3 separate regions of the Homo sapiens genome follow, and all the other regions are linked to region 2. Evidence: promoter capture Hi-C in 16 types of primary human blood cells and fetal thymus (Javierre and others, 2016). All regions are on one chromosome and are shown on one strand. Each heading gives the region's core, a stretch centred on a gene start or on the middle of the fragment in contact. The rest is flanking DNA. Distances are from core to core; before and after follow the strand shown. Region 1 holds the start of RPL7 (ribosomal protein L7). Region 2 holds the start of NCOA2 (nuclear receptor coactivator 2). Region 3 overlaps TERF1 (telomeric repeat binding factor 1).

What was found. Contacts are between HindIII fragments. The CHiCAGO score rates a contact against its expected background, and 5 or more counts as called.
Region 1: a contact is called between the fragment with the promoter of RPL7 here and the fragment with the promoter of NCOA2 in region 2, in 9 of 17 cell types (naive CD8 T cells, total CD4 T cells, activated CD4 T cells and 6 more). The highest score is 13.4, in naive CD8 T cells.
Region 3: a contact is called between a fragment that was not itself captured here and the fragment with the promoter of NCOA2 in region 2, in 1 of 17 cell types (naive CD8 T cells). The highest score is 5.2, in naive CD8 T cells.

What each region holds. Positions count from the first base shown.
Region 1 is chr8:73,290,507-73,295,397 of GRCh38, reverse strand. It overlaps RPL7 (ribosomal protein L7), which reads left to right and starts at 1,765. Exons shown (of 7, transcript NM_000971.4): 1 at 1,765-1,799; 2 at 2,601-2,709; 3 at 2,993-3,159; 4 at 3,488-3,625; 5 at 3,737-3,846; 6 at 4,146-4,355; 7 at 4,693-4,891. The coding sequence starts at 1,786. The coding sequence ends at 4,354. RDH10 (retinol dehydrogenase 10) reads right to left here and starts at 796. Exons shown (of 6, transcript NM_172037.5): 1 at 1-796. The coding sequence starts at 108. RefSeq lists a silencer at 104-1,063 and enhancers at 1,154-1,643, 1,097-1,804, 1,764-2,123, 2,134-2,183, 1,805-2,513. The HindIII fragment of the contact is 6,100 bases long and covers 1-3,015 here.
Region 2 is chr8:70,401,264-70,405,592 of GRCh38, reverse strand. NCOA2 (nuclear receptor coactivator 2) reads left to right here and starts at 1,785. Exons shown (of 23, transcript NM_006540.4): 1 at 1,785-1,893. RefSeq lists silencers at 1,009-1,168, 1,859-2,168, 2,209-2,498, 2,529-3,188 and an enhancer at 1,269-1,388. The HindIII fragment of the contact is 4,231 bases long and covers 493-4,329 here.
Region 3 is chr8:73,012,723-73,017,268 of GRCh38, reverse strand. It overlaps TERF1 (telomeric repeat binding factor 1), which reads right to left. Exons shown (of 10, transcript NM_017489.3): 2 at 3,279-3,374. Among named protein-coding and RNA genes, the nearest start is that of TERF1, 6.1 kb to the right of the region's middle. The HindIII fragment of the contact is 4,417 bases long and covers 835-4,546 here.

The DNA of each region.
Region 1 (4,891 bases), core at 516-3,015, 2.9 Mb before region 2:
GCCCGCCACGCTCTTCTCCTTGGGCCGCACCAGCCAGCGCGCCGCGGCCAGCACGAACGCCCAGAGCACTTTGAAAGTGACCACGAAGAACTCCACCACGATGTTCATCGCGACGCCCGGGGCCCCGCACGAGCCCAGTGCCTGCGTCCGCGCCCACCCCGAGCCCGGCAATCGGGCTCCCGGCTCCGGGGCGCTTGTCACAGAGGCCGGGACGAGAAGGCTGCGCCCCGCGCCCGCCCCCGAGGTGCCCGCCGGGTTGGAGTGCGCGGCGCCGCTCCCTGCCTGCGCGGGGCCACTCCCGCCCGGGCTCGGCGCTGTGGCCCCGGACTGTGCCCGCCGCGGCAGTCACCCGGCTCGGCGCCTCCTGCCGGCAGCCGCCCGCCCGTCCCGCAGCGCCCGGCCGGCCGGCTCCGCTGCAGTGGCGGTGACAGCCGCGAGTTAGACTACTCGAACTGCCCTCATGGCCAAGCTGCTGCCGCCCGAGCGTCCCCGGAACCGGCGCGCCGGCTCCCTCTCACCCCGGGGGAGGGGTGCGCAGCGGAGGCGGCACGGGCCAGCGGGCTGCCGCGGGAGTTGTCAACTCGACCCAAGTTGCGAGAGGGTGGGAGAGTGGGGTGCGGGGCGGCGGAGCGCCGGGAAGGGGAGACTCGCTCGGCGCAGGCAAGCGCTGCCCAACGCCTTGCAGCTGCCCCCGAGGGCTCGCGTTCCCCGGCCCTGCACTCTCCGCGGGTGTCACTCGGGCACTGGGCTCCGCAGCGCAGCCCGCTTGCAAGTCAGAGCGCTCCGGGCCGGCTCTGAGCGGGCTCCACGCTCCGCGCTATATAACCCCGCGACCGGGAAGAGCCCGCGCCAGCCTCGGCATCGGCCCTCCCTCCGCCCGGCCTCCCCGCCCCCGGGCGCACCCCGCCCCCGGCCCAGCCCCCAGCCCGCCAGCCGTCCGCGGAGCCGAGCCGGGTAGCCCCTCTCACACGGCCGTGGCCGCAACCTCAGCCCTCCTCGCACCTCCCTTCGCAGCTCACGCCCCCTCCCGTGGGGTGTCCTGGCCTCCGCCTGCCGAGCTCGGCAGTCAGCAGAGCCCCGGCCATCCTCCTCCGGCCGTCCGGTCCCCACTGGTCCCTGGCTAGCCACTTTTCGTAAGCTAGAGCACTCCAGACCGCCCCGCCTGCGATCAGGCGCTGCGGAAGACAGCCCTGTGGGCTGGAGCGACGACAAGGACCTCGCGGAGCGGCGAAAGGGGTGTAGTCTGCGACTACCGCGGCAGGGAGCCGGGAGGGCGGCCAAAAGTGACTTCGAATTGCAGCTAGCCGTTTGGAACGTGGCCCAAGAGGCTCTCATTTTCCTGGCTGGAACCGTCGCCGCGGTGCTTGCCTGCGGTCCTGGTCAGCCGTTGCCCTCCCGCCGGGCGGGCGAAGACTGGTGCATGCTGGGATTTGTAGTTCGTCCCCATGAGGCTCGTCCTGGGAACATTATGGGGAGGAACGGAGCCTAATCCTGTCAGCGCAGCCTGGGGATTAGGACCCGGAGTTGCCAAGGTGTCAGCACTCTTTGCTCTTGAATTGATTAAAAAGTCTAATCAAATGCATATATTTTCTTCAAACAAGTTTTACCCGAAAGTTTGTTGAAAGAGGCTAAATCAGGGAGTTCTTTGCGTCTGCAAGGCGGCTTTTTAGTTCTGGATTCTTTTCCGGCTTATTCTAAGACACCTATGAGTCGTGGGGCTTCTCTCGCGAAGTCTTTAAGTGGACAGTACGCATGCGCCAACTTCCTCTTTTTCCGGCTGGAACCATGGAGGGTGTAGAGTGAGTTGCTTCTGGTCCTCTTGAGAATCCTTCTCCATCTCCAGAGCCAGATACTTTTTGTGTCACTTTTTCTCTCTCTGGCCGTAGCTTGCACCTTTGCCCACCTCCCTGCTTGATTGTGAACGCTGTGTGACACCAGTGGGGACCTGAGGCTAGGGTTGGGATGCGGGCGGTCTTAGGACGGAGGTTTTGGAGATCCCGGGAACGAGATGTCGGGTTGGAATGTGTGTGGAACCCGTCGGTTGGCTGACGGCCCAGTCCTCGGTAGAGGGTCTTTCGGGGGAGGCGCAGAACCTCTGAATTGTGTTCGTCCTTGGCTGGTGCTTGGTACAGGCCTCCCTGCCGCCAGGCCTTTGCTTTCAACATGTGGATCCTGATTGAACCAGAGTGGTGGTGGCTTGTTTTTTTTTTATTTTTATTTTTTAATTTTTGCGCTTAAAGTCTCGGGGTCAGTGCCTTGCAGTAGTCTTTCAGCTAGTACATTTTGTTATTCGGGTGTTGGTGTGTTTTTTTTGTTTTTTTTTTTAATTAGTCGTCGGAGGCCGGGCCTCTTGGTTGAAATAGGGAAAAACGTATTGCTATTGTCATATTTGTGATTGCGTTTTAGGCAACATGGTGTTAAAGGTTATTGACATGGAGCTAAAATATGCATCGTACACTGTAGCATGCCAGAGCAAGTAAAGTTACTAGTGACTAAAGTCAGTGACAGCATTTCTGGTAAACAACACTGCTCAGTACGGGAGTAATACAGCGCTGTGAGCTTTTTGAGCTATTGATAACATTTTTGTTTATTAACGTTAGAGAGAAGAAGAAGGAGGTTCCTGCTGTGCCAGAAACCCTTAAGAAAAAGCGAAGGAATTTCGCAGAGCTGAAGATCAAGCGCCTGAGAAAGAAGTTTGCCCAAAAGATGGTAAGTAAACTTTTTGAGGCACTAGCACATAAGGAGGCGCCTTATTGGGATTGAGGATGAGGTGAATGTTCTTGGCAAGATTTACTTCCTAACTGTACTGAGTAATTGCTTAGCTACCTAATGTTACAATCTGAAGGTAGTGGGGTTTTTTGGTGGGGGATGTAATTGCATACTGTGGCAAGAAAAGATTTAAAGGAAACATGTTGTAGTTTTCTTTTTAATGATTGGCATTGCTAATTGTGATTGAGCTAAAAATTATGAATAACTGATTATTGGTTTTCAGCTTCGAAAGGCAAGGAGGAAGCTTATCTATGAAAAAGCAAAGCACTATCACAAGGAATATAGGCAGATGTACAGAACTGAAATTCGAATGGCGAGGATGGCAAGAAAAGCTGGCAACTTCTATGTACCTGCAGAACCCAAATTGGCGTTTGTCATCAGAATCAGAGGGTAAGTTCAGTTTTACTGCATTCGGGTTTGAATGGGAAAAAAAAAAAAAACCTTCACATTACTTCTGGGAGCCCTGATTCTGAAACACCGGAGTAACAATATTTTAGGGGAAGCTAGAACAAGGAGGGTGCTGATCACTAATGGTTTAGTTGCAAGCCATGTTCCCCAAGCTCCTATCCCTTCTCTTAATAGAATACAGAAATTCAGTGTGTAACATGAGAGGATTCCTATCTGTTTAGGTAGGATTCGATATTCAAAACTATAATGGTTAGTATTAATAAAAATTTCGATGAAAGGCAAATGCATTTCTGGTCCGTTTTCACCACAGTATCAATGGAGTGAGCCCAAAGGTTCGAAAGGTGTTGCAGCTTCTTCGCCTTCGTCAAATCTTCAATGGAACCTTTGTGAAGCTCAACAAGGCTTCGATTAACATGCTGAGGATTGTAGAGCCATATATTGCATGGGGGTAAGTCTCTTTTCTCCTTTGATTTCTATTTGATAAATTGGTTATGTAGCAACATGAATTTTAGATGTTTTAACAGTGGTCACCTTATTTATGTTTGCTTTTTCACTTCAGGTACCCCAATCTGAAGTCAGTAAATGAACTAATCTACAAGCGTGGTTATGGCAAAATCAATAAGAAGCGAATTGCTTTGACAGATAACGCTTTGATTGCTCGATCTCTTGGTAGGTTCTATTTGGGGGAAAATTTGGTATTAGACCATGCGATAATTTCTTACCCTCTTGTGGCCGTACATTTCTCACTATTGTGAATCTTCATGTGTTCCCTATGATTCTTGATTTAGCTTAAAAGAAAACGTAAGACATGGTTTCATTAGCTTGAACCTTATCTTTGTAAAGCCATGCATTTACCTTGTTTATTCCTGGTTATGTTTTCATCTCACAGCCTATTCAAAAAGATTTTGAATAATTATTTCAAAACTTTTTGCAACTTTAATAATCTTAAATAACCTTAAAATATTTAGGTAAATACGGCATCATCTGCATGGAGGATTTGATTCATGAGATCTATACTGTTGGAAAACGCTTCAAAGAGGCAAATAACTTCCTGTGGCCCTTCAAATTGTCTTCTCCACGAGGTGGAATGAAGAAAAAGACCACCCATTTTGTAGAAGGTGGAGATGCTGGCAACAGGGAGGACCAGATCAACAGGCTTATTAGAAGAATGAACTAAGGTGAGAGACCTCATCCTGAGAAAGGTTGAGTTAATGTTAGAGTATAAGTGGTGGTAATCTTGAATACTTTTCCCATTAAATATTGATGGGGGTTTGAATTTTAATCAGTGCTTTTGTGGGGAGTGGGGGTCAACTATCTTAATGATTACAGTTGGTTTGTTTACTGCTTTTGAGGACCTTTCTGGAGGAAAGGAAAAGCCTGTTTTGGGGAGTCTTTAAAGATGGAAATTGGGTGGTCTTAAAAATGTAAACTCAATCATTACTTTATAACTGCCTAGTTTATGTTAATTGTTAGCTGCCTAAAGTGTTTTCTAATGGTTTTCTTTTTTCCTTTCAGGTGTCTACCATGATTATTTTTCTAAGCTGGTTGGTTAATAAACAGTACCTGCTCTCAAATTGAAATATATTGTTGTATTTGTGATTTGTTGTTGTTGTTGTTAGCCTGCCTCTGTCTTCCCTTAACTACTGTGGCAAGTGTGGTGTGTGATAAAATTAAGCCAAATCAACAGCCCATTTCGTGCAAAATCAGGGTCGAG
Region 2 (4,329 bases), core at 536-3,035:
CCTCAGGTGACTACTACCCCATTGTAGACAAGCTACAGACTGGTATTAGCAGAAGATAGGCCATAAACAAACTCTCCATTTCCTCTCAACGCTTTGGGAACATAATTCTATTATTCCAGCTAGCTAAAAAAAAAAAAAAAAAAAAAAAAAAAAAACCTTTAAAAATATACATTAATACATAGTCAATGCAAACATTTCAAACATTAGATAGGTGTGCAAAATAAAAAGTGGAAGTGCCTCATCACCCACTTCTTACACTCCCCAGCGCTAACATTTGTTGTTATAGGCTTCCAAGCATTTTCTATCCACAAACAAACACAGACACACACACCCCACACATTTTTTTTATTCTTTTCCCAAATAAAATTGGCGGTACACCCACAAATTTTAGGATGAAGACATGTTTAAAAGCATGGGCTTTGGAGCTCACCAGAACTGGGCTCACATCCTCTCCAACTACTGGCTGTGACCCTGGGCAAATTACTTTAAGCTTCAATTTTTTGTGTGAAGTGAAAAGCGGCAATGACTTCGGAAGGTTTGAGGATTAAGGCCTATAGCATATATACATCACCTAGCACAGTCAGATTCACAGTAAGTGTTCAATAAACACTCTTATTGTCTACCGCAAGTGACCTTTCTCATTATAAGATTAAAATCAGGGAATATGTTCCTCTCATAGTTTGATAACTGCCATTAAACAAAAGTTTTTTTTTTCAACTAATTACCGTATAAGTTGGAAAAAAAACTTGCTTTTCCAAAGCGTAAAACAGATTGGTCTAAGTAACACTTAAATGGGGGTTCTCGCATTTTCAGTGCCAATCTCCTACGTCCCCTCAGTACTTTGTTCACGGATGTCTAGAGAATGGACTTTCCAATACAAACTTATGATTTCATGATGTGCCGAAAATTCTCAACCAGGTTAAGTTTCACACTCTGTGTGCAGCATTTGCTTTATCCCGCAATTGCCGGGTGGTGCCCCTTCCAGCTCCCACAGTCGCGCCTCTCCATCCCCTCTGGAGCTAGGACTGCAATGGGAGAAGCCTCTCCCTGTTGGAGCCGTAGGGGACTTGACGGATGCGGGGCGCCTCCGGGGAGCAGCGGCAGGACCGGGAGTTGGGTAGGGTGAGGTGCGCCCGAGGGGGTGCAGGGTGCTGGCCGAAGGGTCCGGCCGGACGGGCGCGAGGGTCCTCTGCTGGCGACCCTGGAACTCGGCTCTCCCCGATCTTCGTCCTGGGGCACCGTCCCTGCCGTCTGCAGCCCCCAGGCCCCACTGCCTCTAACTCAGCGGCCCAGGCCCGTCCCAGTCGCTAGTTTTCTTTTTGGCATTGCCCTTTGCCCTCCCATGCAGTCCTCTGTTGACTCTCTCTTCAGTTCCAGTCACCTCTAGGTCACCCTCCCTCTACCACAGTCACCCATTTTGTCCCCTGTCCCCTTACTCTTCTTCACCTCTCCCCGGGCCGCCTTCTCAGAGGACTCTGCCGACGGAGATGCTGCGGACCCCGCGGCCAGGGGCTGCTCCCCGGACAACCCTGCGTCCACCTTTGCCCCTTCCTCGGGGGCGCGAGAGGCAAGTTTCCGCCCCGTCCTTTTCCCGGTGACAGGACTTGGCGGCGGCCACTGCCGGGGAGGCAGAGGGAGGGACGGCCTGGCTCCCGAGCCCCCTCCCCTGCTCGCGAGCTCGCGCTGTCTGTCTCTCCGCAAGTGCGGAGACGCGGAGGAGGAGGAGGAGGAGGAGGAGGAGGAGGGAGTTGGGGGAGGATCTCCATTGAAATAAACAACCAGGCAGCAGTTATTAACACGGGAACATGGCGGCCGCAGCCTCGGCTACAGCTTCGGCGGCGAAGGTCAGCGCCGACGGCAGCCGGCACCTGACGGCGTGACCGACCCGAGCCGGTAACCGCGCCTTCCCCCGGGGCCGCGAGGGCGGGCGGGGGGCGGGCGGCAGGCGGGGGGCGCCGCGTCCCCACCCCCGGCCGCGACTGCCCTTCCTGCGCCGAGCTCCGACAGAGCCGTGCGCCTCCGAGAGGCTGTTTTTGTGTGCGGGGACCGCCGCCGGAGTGCGCGGAAAACGGGAGTTGCATCCCGGAGGCGCAGCGACGCTGGGGAGTTGGGGCTTGGGGGTGGGGAGGGCGGGAAGCGACGGGGAGACGCGGAGTCCCCGGGAGAGAAAGGAGGCGCTCCAGCGCCTTGCGAGAGCTCAGGAGACGAGTCCCGGAGCGCGAGGCGGGCGGAGGCTGCAGCCCGCGGCGCGGGCGAGAGGTGAGCGCCGAGGCGCGGCCGGGGGTGCGGGCGCGGCCCCCGCCCCGAGGAGCGAGTGCCCATTGCCCAGCCCGGTGCGGGGTCGGCGGAGACCGAGGCTCTAACCCCTCGGGGGCAGCGCGGCAGAGCCGAGAAGGTGAATCCTGGGAAGGTGCATTCTTTAATGGAAGCGCGGAGCGGCTGCAGCGGAGAGTGGGAGCCGGGCGAGGGGAGGCAGGACTCGGGAAGTGCTGGGGGTGTGTGAAGGTGAAGCGGGGTGTCGGGGCGGCCGGCGAGCTGCAGCGCGGGGCGGGGAAGGGGAGCCGCGGCCCGGCGGGTGGCCCGGGCCCGTGTCAGCCCCGGGGGTGGGGGGCGAGGGGCGCCGAGCACCGCGGGCGGACGGGAAGGAGCTGCGGCGGGCGGGGCGGGCGGCGCGCTGGGGCCGAGCAGGCCGGGCCGTGGTGGGGGCGGGGAGCCGGGGGCCGGGCCCCGGCGGCGCCGAGCCGGGCTCGCCCCTGACTGAACTTTCTGGGTGCGGGCGTGTATGCAGGAGGCGCGCTGGGGCCGGGGCCGGGGGCGGGAGGCGGACCGGGAGGTTCCGGGTTGGCTCGCCAGCGCCCCCTTTTCTCGCCCCCTTCTCTCCGCCCCTGAAGGGACAGGCCCTCGGGGCCCCAGGCGGGAAGCGGGAGGGGCCCTGTGGCCGCCTCGCGACGGTCACGCCCCGGGCACGGGGACCCGGCCCTCTCGGGCCCCTGGGGGGTGCTGGGGGAGGGGGCCGGGGTCGTCGCTGCCGGCTGCGCTCCCCGCCTCCTCCCCTCGGGGGAGTCCCAGAGGCGCCTCTTCCGAGACCGGGGGTGGGTCGGTCCCTGGTTAGATGGCCCCTCCCTCTTCCCCTCCCTCTAGTGGTTTCCGGGGCCTGCGGGACCGAGGGGCGGGAATCGGGGACTGGAGCCCCCTTCCGCTGGCCCGGAGCTGGACTGGGCCTCCCGCGTTCTGGGTCCGTCACTGGTAGGGGAAACTTTCCCAAACCAGAGACCGAGCCTGAACACCTTCCTCCGCCACCTCGTCCTCTAATCCCACTCCCTCTCCACCTCCTCCGACGCCTTCCCCTCCCACCGACCCGAATCTCGGTGCGTCTGACTGATGGGGCAGTGAGCCAATCGAAGGCAGGGAGCTGACCTGCCGGGTGTCGGTGAGCCAATCGTGCGGACCGGAGGAAGGAAGGGGGCGGGGTTTCTCCTGACCAGTTAGAGCAGAGTTGCATGCGGGGCGGGGGAGTCATGGAGACGCTGAGAGCCAGCTACTCTTGTCCATCCCCGAGTCACCCGCTCCTTGATTTCTGGGGTTGTGTCACTTATAGGGGCTCCGACCCGCAGAGGCTGCCGAGGCACTCGAGGTCCTGTATGTCTTTCGTACCGAAATAGACGTTGTCTTAGACACGACGAAGTCTAAAGCCACTTTAGGATGTGGCAGTAACTCACCGAGGCCGGTTTCTAAAATGGCATATGCTGTAGTGATCATGTCCTGGACCTCAGCGTCCGGTTTACATGCTAAGGGTCACAGAAGACAGAAGTTACCCGTTTACCTCTTATCTCGGTTTCACTCAGCTATGCCAGAATGGGGACAATGAAATTTGAAAGGGAACCCTGAGAATGAAGGCATGGGAGCAGTATCACGTCAACTGATTATTGGTAGTAGAAAGCATCATTGTTCATAATGGCTTCACTGGTTTCTTGTTTAATTAGAGCTCCAGTTCCCAAAGTGTACTTGAAACTTCGGCATTGGGGATGTCATTAAAAAAAAAAGTTGTGGTTTATGGTATGCATTTTTTTTTCTTTTTGCAAACAAAATGAAGTTGGGAACTAAAGCATCACTGATTGAAACATTAAGTGTGGGTATTTAAGGAGCAAAGCTAATCAAAGAATATTTGTCTACAGGAAAAAGTCTGAGTAAAATGTAGTTTGCCAGATTACTCCCACACAAAAGATTCTTAAAAATAATTTTAATTTTCTTAAACACTGCTGAATTGTACAGTGTGTGGGTACTTTTCTGGTTTATACAAGGTTTGGAGACATCTTTGGTTTTAACTGT
Region 3 (4,546 bases), core at 1,794-4,293, 2.6 Mb before region 2:
CTCATTTTTCATCTGCTTGCTTTCTTTCAAGAGCTAATTTCAACACACATTTTCAAATAAGTATTTCTTGACTGACATTACTTAACCCTTCTCACTTATCTGCCTTCCTTCTTATAAATGTGACATAGAGAAAAATGTATGTTAGATCTTAGCTTCAAAAAATTTACAGTATAGACATTCACTTCCAGGTGGGATGTAGTATACTGCAGCAAACAAAACACTCACACTACAGCTAGAAAACAGTTAGATAAACTCCAAAATCACATTGCTAAAGACATGGGATAGCCATGGAAGCAATGAAAATGAGATGAACTAAAATTCCAGAGAGAATCCCTTCTGAGGTGAGCTGCCGATTTGCTGATTTTGGATAAGGCTGAGGATCCAGTGCACTCCAGCCAGAGAGACTTTACTGGAGAAAGACAAATAAGAACAGCTTCTGGTGGTTTCCTTGGGGCTGGCACGTCGACTGGAAACTAGAGAAACTGCAAACATGATTGGCTTTTCTCCACAGGACATGTGCTGAGTTCCACGGCAATGCAATAGGCTGCAGTGGAAAGGCACATTAAGTCTCCCAGAGTTTTGGGAGGCCTAGGCGGGAGGATCACTTAAGGCAAGGAGTTCAAGACCAGCCTGGACAACATGAGACCTCGTCTCTACAAAAAATTAAAAAATTAACTGGGCCTGATGGTGCACCTGTAGTCCTAGCTACTCAGGAGGCTGAGGCAGGAGGATCACTTGAGCTCAAGAGTTTGAGTCTGCAATAAACTATGATGGCACCACTGCATTCCAGCCTGGGCCAGAGAGACACCCTGGCTAAAAAAAAAAAAAAAAGCTTAAAGTTCCATAAGAGGAGGATGACAAGCATTTCCCCTTTAAGATATCTGCTGTATTTCAGAGCTACGTGGGGGTCTACAGCCACATCACCCCAAACATGTCCAATCTTGTCAAACCTATGTGGGGTAGGAGACTAAACCCAATATGGTAGCTACTAGCCATACATGATTACTGCACAGCTACTAGCCATACATGATTACTGCACAGCTAAAATATGGCTAGTTTGAATTGAGATGCACCTTAAGTATAAAGTACACATGAGATTTCAAAGACTTACTCCAAAAAAAGGTAAAATATCTCATTTGATTTTTTTTAAGAGATGGGGGCCTTGCTGTGCTGCCCAGGTTGGGGTGCAGTGGTGTGATCATAGCTCACTGCAGCCTTAAACTCGTGGGCTCAAGTGATCCACCCACCTCAGCCTCCCAGAGCTGGGATTACAGGTGTGAGCCATGTGCCTGGCCTTACTAACATTTTTTACACTGACTACTTGTTGACATAGTGTTTGAGAAATATTGAGTTAAATAAGATTATCAAAATTAATTCCACCTATTTTAATTATCATTATTATTTTTTAGCTACACCTGCTGGAATGGGAATTTCTAAATTTCATGACAGGATTTCATTCTGTCACTCAGGCTGAAGTGAAGTGGCACAATCACAGCTAACCACAGCCTCAACCTCCTGGGCTCAAACGATCCTACCTCAGTCTCCAGAGGACCACACGTGGTTAACTTTTTATTTTTATTTTTTTTTGTATTTTTAGTAGAGACGGGGTTTCACCACGTTAGCAAGGATGGTCTTTATTGCCTGGCCTCGTGATCCGCTCACCTCGGCCTCCCAAAGTGCTGGGATTACAGGCGTGAATCACCACGCCCAGCCAATTTTTTAAATTTTTTGTAGAGACAGGGTCTCGCTATGTTGCCTAGGCTGGTGTCAAATTCTTAGGCTCAAGCGATCCTCCTGTCTAGGCCTCCCAAAGTACTGGGATTACAGGTGTGAGTCACTATGCCTGGCCTACTTTTCTTAACATAGCTATTAGAAAATTTTAAATTAGACATGTGGCTCACATATCTCTATTAGGCAGTGCCACTATAGAGCAAAATTAAAAAAAAAAAAAAAAAAGCAAAAGGGTTATGTATAGCCAAAAATCCAATACATAAAATTTTAAATGCTGCCTCAGTTTAGTGCATTATGGTGAAATACATTGATTCTTGACAGCTGACCCTGGCCTATTATATCTAGGATATATCCAAAAGAGTATCCTGGTAAATTCCAAGATTAAACCATGAGATCACACATAAAATCTGGATTCCCCCCTGCCTTTTTTGGAGAAAAGGTTATCCAGGAAGCAACTAAGATGTGCTGAACAACTGCTATGTGTAAAGCACTGCCAGGCACTTTAGAATACTTTTCCACCTTAATGTAGAAAACAACCCTGTTAACAACAGTGTCAACTTATAGTCTGCATGGTCTGGAATTCTGCTCCAGCCTGCTACTTCTCCAGCAACTGGCCCAGGCCTACCTATGGCTCTGTCTCTTTCACAACTATTCTGCCTCTATCTAGTTCTATCCATTTATGGTCCTGGCACCAACTCCAGACCTACCCTCACCCCCCAAACAAAGCAGACTACATCAGCCAGAGATACTTTAGTGAAGGCCTTGACAGTGGTGCTAATACACTGGGATTTTATGTAAGACAACACTTCAATAAGCAAGCAGTTTTATGTAAGTACTGCCCACTACTCAGGATTGTTGGAAAAGTATTTTGTAAATTATAAAAACCAATCTAAATACAAAATTATTTCCATCAAATAGCCTTTTAAAATGACCATGTTGTAAATACCAGCCATTACTGATAAACTGAATCAGCCTTGCCCATTACAATCTAAAATGGAACTACAGAGACAAGGGAGAGAGATTACAGCTATAAACTGTACTTCTTACGTAAGCGCTGGCATCAAGTTCAAATAAAAGGTTTCAAATATAATAGTTGCCAGTAAAAACAGAGTGTGTATGATTGGAGTCACCACAAAGTTAGCAAATAGAGTCAATGAAACACACTTCCCCAAGAGTAGCATCAGAATCACCTGGGAATTTATTAGAAATGTATATTTCAGAGCCCCATACCCATCCTACTGAATCTGAAACTCATGAGAGTTAGGGAGACTCAGCACTATGTTTTTTTTTTTTTAATAAGCCCTTTAAGTAATTCTGGAGCAGGCTAAAGTTTGAGAACCAATGTTCTAAGATGACAGGGACTACATTTCTTTTACTTGCTTTAGATATGACTGTATGTGTACACACACACACACACCACCCCCCCACACCCCTATGCACCAGACACTTGTAGGCAAACTTCCCCCAAAAACGTCTGTTTCTTCCCATTGTCTTACATTAGAAACAGATTGAAATATTTCCAATATAAAATAAAAAAACATATTTACCAAGGGTTTTTCCTGCTGCAATTCTTGTCAAAAACTGACATATGTATATCGTTCTCAACTGGCAAGCTGTTAGACTGGATAGTCCATGAATAATAGCTAAAAAAGAAAAAAAGTAAATTTTATTAAAATCAAACTTGATCCAGTAGTGCCACTGTGTGGTTTGTTGAGTAATAGGCTACAAACATATTGTAAAAATTATCATAAATTTAGAGTTGTACATTTAAGATCTGATTAAAATTCAGAACAAAAAAAAAGAATAGCAATGAAGACATTTCTTACAAAATATAACTTTCACATGTAGAATAAAAATTGTTGAAAATTCTTTCACAAGTAGCAGTCTACATTAACAAAAAAGATTTAGATACAAATTGTAAAATGTGTAAAATCATTGGTTGGAAACTTATACCTAGAAACATTTCATATAATAGAAAATATTTTATATTATTTCTATCTAGGTTTCAGTTAAGTGAGTCTGTTTAGCTTACAAAGTTTAAAACCTATTAATATTAACCTCCCCAAACTTGAATGCCCACCCAGATGTTGAGTCAGGCAGTGATTACATACAATACCAAGTAAGCCATACTCCTGGACCACAGTGAGCTTTTTACCATGTAGCAATGAGACAAGCGATTGAACTACTGAAGTAAAAATGTTGTGAAAACTTTAAAAAGACAAGTACAGAATGCTTTGGAAGCATATAACAAGAAATCTGTGTGTTTAAGTATCTTCTGCACAGAGGAGGTGTCAGGGAAGGCTTCTCTGAGGAAATAATGTCTAACCTAAGACCTGAAGGTGCCACTACTACCATTATACCTAACCCAGGGCTTGGTTGGTGTATATATAAAAAACTTAAATAACTAGCAAACTGAAAAGCAATTCTGTAGCAATTAAGCATATAAGACGAATATATTTTTACCCAATTTCCTCCCTCAATTCTAACATAATCTTATGCTACACCAGAGATTATCTGGACCATACACAGTCATAATAGAATTTAACAGGATTTTAAGAGAGCACAAAATTTATATAGAATTTAAACACAAGCCATTCAATATTTACTGAACATCTACTGCCAGCCTGTGTTAGGAGGTGATGACTTCAGATAGCCAGTCTCTGCCCCCATGAAGGTTTTAATCTGAGAAGACACAATTAAACAAAAAGTTATGTAAGTAACTAATTAAAATTTTAATGAGTACCACGAAGGATAGGTGCAGACATACCTCATTTTATTGTGCTTTGCAGATTGCATGTTTTTTACAAATTGAAAG